Linked DNA regions of Homo sapiens: region 1 is linked to region 2. The links are contacts of gene promoters, found by promoter capture Hi-C in human tissues and cell types (Jung and others, 2019). All regions are on one chromosome and are shown on one strand. Each heading gives the region's core, a stretch centred on a gene start or on the middle of the fragment in contact. The rest is flanking DNA. Distances are from core to core; before and after follow the strand shown.

Evidence for each region. The method cuts DNA at HindIII sites, captures the fragments that hold promoters and counts their contacts. A contact is called where the count stands out against the background at its distance.
Region 1: a fragment that was not itself captured here is called in contact with the fragment with the promoter of CNGA3 in region 2 in 3 of the 25 tissues and cell types used here (heart left ventricle, heart right ventricle and thymus).

What each region holds. Positions count from the first base shown.
Region 1 is chr2:97,872,110-97,874,809 of GRCh38, reverse strand. The region is part of intron 4 of TMEM131 (transmembrane protein 131); the gene reads left to right. Among named protein-coding and RNA genes, the nearest start is that of TMEM131, 120 kb to the left of the region's middle. The HindIII fragment of the contact is 4,393 bases long and covers 1-2,700 here.
Region 2 is chr2:98,345,118-98,347,817 of GRCh38, reverse strand. It overlaps CNGA3 (cyclic nucleotide gated channel subunit alpha 3), which reads right to left and starts at 1,362. Exons shown (of 8, transcript NM_001298.3): 1 at 1,284-1,362. RefSeq lists an enhancer at 351-862. The HindIII fragment of the contact is 6,521 bases long and covers 1-2,700 here.

The sequences.
Region 1 (2,700 bases), core at 199-2,698, 470 kb after region 2:
CAGTTTCTTCATAGTGTTGATGTTCTTTACAATTTAGTATATTTTTACAGTGGATGCTACTGGTTGTTCCTGTCCATATTTAGTGCTTCCTTCAGGAGCTCTTGTAAGGCAGGCCTGGTGGTGACAGAATATCTCAGCATTTGCTTGTCTGTAAAGGATTTTATTTCTCCTTCACTTATGAAGCTTAGTTTGGCTGGATATGAAATTCTGGGTTGAAAATTCTTTTCTTTAAGGATGTTGAATATTGGGCCTCACTCTCTTCTGGCTAGTAGAGTTTCTGCAGAGAGATCCGCTGTTAGTCTGATGGGCTTCCCTTTGTGGGTAACCCAACCTTTCTCTCTGGCTGCGCTTAACATTTTTTCCTTCATTTCAACCTTGGTGAATCTGACGATTATGTGTCTTAGGGTTGCTCTTCTCGAGGAGTGTTGTTGTGCTGTTCTCTGTATTTCCTGAATTTGAATGTTGGCCTGTCTTGCTAGATTGGAGAAGTTCTCCTGGATAATATCCTGAAGAGTGTTTTCTAGCTTGGTTCCATTCTCCTTGTCACTTTCAGGTACACCAATCAAACGTAGATTTGGTCTTTTCACATAGTCCCATATTTCTTGGAGGCTTTGTTCATTCCTTTTTATTCCTTTTTCTCTAATCTTGTCTTTGCTCTTTATTTCATTAAGTTGATCTTCAATCACTGATATCCTTTCTTCCACTTGACCAATTCGGCTGTTGAAACTTGTGTATGCTTCACAAAGTTCTCGTGCTGTATTTTTCAGCTCCATCGGGTCATTTATGTTCTTCTCTACACTGGTTATTCTAGTTAACAATTTGTCTAACCTTTTTTTCAAAGTTCTTGGCTTCCTTGCATTGGATTAGAACATACTTCTTTAGCTTGGAGGAGTTTGTTATTACCCACCTTCTGAAACCTACTTCTGTCAGTTCGTCAAACTCATTCTCCATCCAGTTTTGTTCCCTTGCTGGCGAGGAGTTGTGATCTTTGGAGGAGAAGAGACCTTCTGATTTTTGGAATTTTCAGCCTTTTTGTGCTGGTTTATCCCCATCTTTGGATTTATCTACCTTTGGTCTTTGATGTTGGTGACCTTTGGATGGCATCTTTGAGTGGACGTGCTATTCCTTTCTGTTAGTTTTCCTTCTGACAGGCTCCTCTGCTGCTGGTCTGCTGGAGTTTGCTGGAGGTCCACTCCCGACGCTGTTTGCCTTGGTATCAGCAGCGGAGGCTGCAGAACAGCAAAGATTGCTGCCTGATCATTCCTCTGGAAGCTTCTTCCCAGAGGGGCACCTGCCAAATGCCAGCTAGAGCTCTCCTGTATGAGGTGTCTGTTGGCCCCTACTGGGAGTTTTCTCCCAGTGAGGATACACGGCGGTCAGGGACCCACTTGAGGAGGCAGTCTGACCTTCAGCAGAGCTCGAACGCTGTGCTGGGAGGTCCACTGCTCTCTTCAGAGCTGCCAGGCAGGGATGTTTAAGTCTGCTGAAGCTTCGGCCACAGCTGCCCCTTTCCCCAGGTGCTCTGTCCCAGGGAGCTGGGGATTTATCTATAAGTCCCTGACTGGGGCTGCTGCCTTTTTTTCAGAGATGCCCTGCCCAGAGAAGAGAAATCTGGCAGTCTGGCCACAGCGGCCGTGCTGAGCTGCAGTGGGCTCTGCCCAGTTCGAACTTCCCCGTGACTTGTGACTTTGTTTACACTGTGATTGTAAAACCACCTACTCAAGCCTTAGCAATGGCGGACGCCCCTCCCCCCACCAAGCTCCATTGTCACAGGTTGACCTCAGACTGCTTCTGTGCTGGCAGCGAGAACTTCAAGCCAGTGAATCTTAGTTTGCTGGGCTCCATGGGGGTGGGACCCACTGAGCCAGGCCACTTGGGTCCCTGGCTTCAGCACCCCTTTCCAGGGGAGTGAATGGTTCTGTCTTGCTGGTGTTCCAGGTGCCAATGGGGTATGGAAAAAAAAGAACTCATGAAGTTAGTTCGGTGACTGCCCAAACGGCCGCCCAGTTTTGTGCTTGAAACCCAGGGCCCTGGTGGGGTAGGCACCGGAGGGAATCTCCTGGTTTGCAGCTTGCAGAGACCATGGGACAAGCGCAGTATCTGTGCCAGAGTTCCTCAGGTTCAGTCCCTGACAGCTTCCTTTGGGTAGAAGAGAAAATTCCCTGACCCCTTGTGCTTCACAGATGAGGTGATGCCCCACCCTGCTTCGGCTCGCCCTCCGTGGGCTGTACCCACTGTCTAACCAGTCCCAGTTGGAAATGTAGAAGTCACCCGCCTTCTGCATCCATCTCGCTGGGAGCCGCAGACTGGAGCTGTTCCTGTTCGGCCATCTTGCCAGCAATTGGTTTTTATTGCGGTTGGGGAGCAAGGCTGGAGTGGGTTTGCATGATTGGAACTTCTCACTAGCTCCGAGAGAGAAGGGCTTTTTGATTGGCTTGCCCAGGTTTGGGGCTAAAGGTAAAGGGGCATCATTGGGGCTTGAAAACTATCAACAGTTGAATATCAAAAATGGAGTTAGAGTCTTTCTAACTCATGGCATCTTCTAAAAAGTATCAGGCCCTTCAGGAAGGGTGCATCTAGAATTTCCCTTGCTTCTTTCTTGACCCCAGTGCTGACTCCTGTCATTACCCTGATCATTCCTACTCTCCTGTAGAATTTGTTTCACAATAAACAGATCAAATTAGCTTTCTTTGTTTTCAG
Region 2 (2,700 bases), core at 113-2,612:
ACCGAGCTGTCCACTCCGGGATGGAGTCTGAACCCGGGTGGGTGCCATTCCTGCTGATCCCAGCCTCGCCCCTTTGGAAGATGTGATGGGGAGCGTCTGCCGTCGGGGTGCCGGGCTTCGCTGCAAGGGACTGCTCCCGCCAGCTTCCGGCGAGGCCTGAGCCGGCGGACTGCGTGTCAGAGGCACCTGGTTCAGGCCAAAGAGGCCGGGGCGCCGGCTCCAGGTCCTCTAGGTTCCAGCGCCATTCATCCTCCCTCACGCGCCGCGCCAACCGGAGACCCCCGCTGCAGAGGGCCGAAGTTAAAGTCCCAGCTGCGCCGCTCAGTAGGGAGATTACACAGGGAGAAAAATGAATCACCCGGCCCGGGGTTGCGGGACTGCGAGGGCCTGCGCGCCAAGGCCCCCAGGGGCGTCGGGAGGGGCCGCGGGCTGAGCTAAAGAGAAAAGCCTGACGGCTGGGAGCCCGGCGCCTTTATCCGGTTAGGGGATTGCAGAGGATCAGAGAGCCCGCCGCCCCTTCTCCTCCATCACCGAGCACTAAGCCCCGGGCGTCCGAGATCCCGGGTGTGATTTTATCATTAAAAAAAGTAACCGCGCACTCCTAAAAGAATTTTAATTCTCGCCTCCTCCTCAGCCTACCTTTCTCTTTGAATCCCCAAGGGAAAATAGTCCCCTGGGTTGGGGGGCAGTCCTTCGCCGCTGCCTTCCCCCGGCCCTGCTCCCTCCAGGCCACTGACTCAACCTCCCCCGGCGCGGCGCGGACTCGAGAAGACGCGGCGCCCGCTCCCGACTTGGAGCCGGGGAAGTGGGTCCTTCCCGGACTGGCGGTCCGGGGACAGCGTGACAGGAGGAAATGTATGGGGTGGGGTCGCGGCTGCAAGCCCTACCCGTCCCCAGCGGGAGCCAGCCCTGCTCCTTCTGCCTCCCGCCCCGACGGCTCAGCGGGCTCGGCCCAGCGCGGCTGTGGGACGTGAGTAAAAGGGGGTGCGATCGGCTTGGGGAGCACGGGGAGGGCTTCCTGTCCTTTGAACTGGACTGGAGGGGTATGGGAGCCGGGGAGTGGGAGCCGAGGCCGTAGCCGATCCTTTTTCACTTTCTCTCCAGCCCGCGGCCCGTTTCAGCACCGGGGGCTGCGGACAGCGCCGCGCCCGCCCCTGGAAGCAGCAGCATCCCTCCCCTGCGTGTGGTTCTCTAACTTACCTCCTGTATGGGGTCTGCGGCCCCAGCACACCTCCCGGCGCCCCCCAAAAAATTCCAGCTCAAGAGCCCCTAAAAATCCTTACCCTGCCAAAGTTTGAGCTTCTCCGCGGCGCGCCAGGGTCTGCGGAGCGCCTCCTCCCTCGGCCTCCTAGGCGCAGTTCCGCTCGCTCCCTCCCCCGCGCTCCCGGCCCAGGACTCTGCTCGGCGACTGCTGAAGGAGCCTGTGGCCTCCCTCTCCGTGGGAAAGTAAGGTGAGGCTCTGGAGCCTCAAAGGCGGTCCGAAAGAGGCAGAAGTCATTAGTTCACATCCCCAACCCTCCCAGGGAGGACGGGGAGAGTCAGGGGCAAGAAAGCAAACAAGTCCGTCGTTCCGTTCTGGGTTCTCTCCTAACTGTGGGCGGCCACCCTGGACTCCTTCCTGGGATGTTTTGCTGGTAGTGTAATCCACACTGGATGAGTAAGCAACAGAGATCTGGGGTTTGAAGTTTAAAGGTGGGGACACACACACACACACACGCACAAAGTCTTGGACCCGTTTGCCATCTTAGGGAAGATGTTAGAAACAAGTTTCTCTTTGGGACAATGTGTATTCTCCTTGCAGAGTTTTTGTTTCCTTCCATCACATCAGATAACATCGGATTTCCTGAACTAAAAATTAAAACCACCAATCCAGCTAGTAATTATTTAACCCCTATTGAAGCCCAAGGAACTTAAACTCTTTTTGGAGAAAATAACTTTATTTACTAAAACTCATTTTCCTCCCAGAAGGTGTACTTCCAAGAACACACCTCTCCATGAAGGATGAAGACCGAATCCTGCCTTTCCCTCACCAGCAATTGCATGCTCTGGTTCTGGATCGCAGGAGCAGGTCCCGGGAGGAATCCAAGCCTCCTTGCCTGGGACAAGCCTCTTGGGTTCCAGGTTCTCTTGACTGATACCCTCATGGGAAGAAACTCCACAAAAGCAGATCCCACCGCAGCCAGCTAACCAGAGCTTCTCTGAGGACTTGGAGTACATGGCATTTCCTAGCATACTTATCAAATCGCCTGTTAATTGAACACATTATCTTTAGAAGGCTTAAGTTCATCGAGTTCATGCAATACTTGAAGGGAGAGATGAAGTGTATGTTTTTCACTGAAGAAATAAAGAATTAGAATGGCTCACACACACATGTGCATGTGTGCACACATGTCATGTCTTAAAGGGGGGAAGTAAAACCTAGACAAATTTTCCCCCAAAGAAAATCAGGCTTAGTCGTTCAGATTCAAGGGACTCTGGTAGTGGAAGAGCAAATAAATGGAAGTGGTGAATCAACAAAAGGAAGCCAAAGCCACAGAAGTTGGAAGAGAGGAGAATTCTTATTTTATTACTTGGGCTTCTGAAAGGAACCTGAAATTATAATAATTTCAAGAGAAAATATAATAGATGAGACTTTGCCTCATTGAGGACTTCAGTATTCTTATTCCAGGGAATCTCCACGTGCCTCAATTATGAATCTCC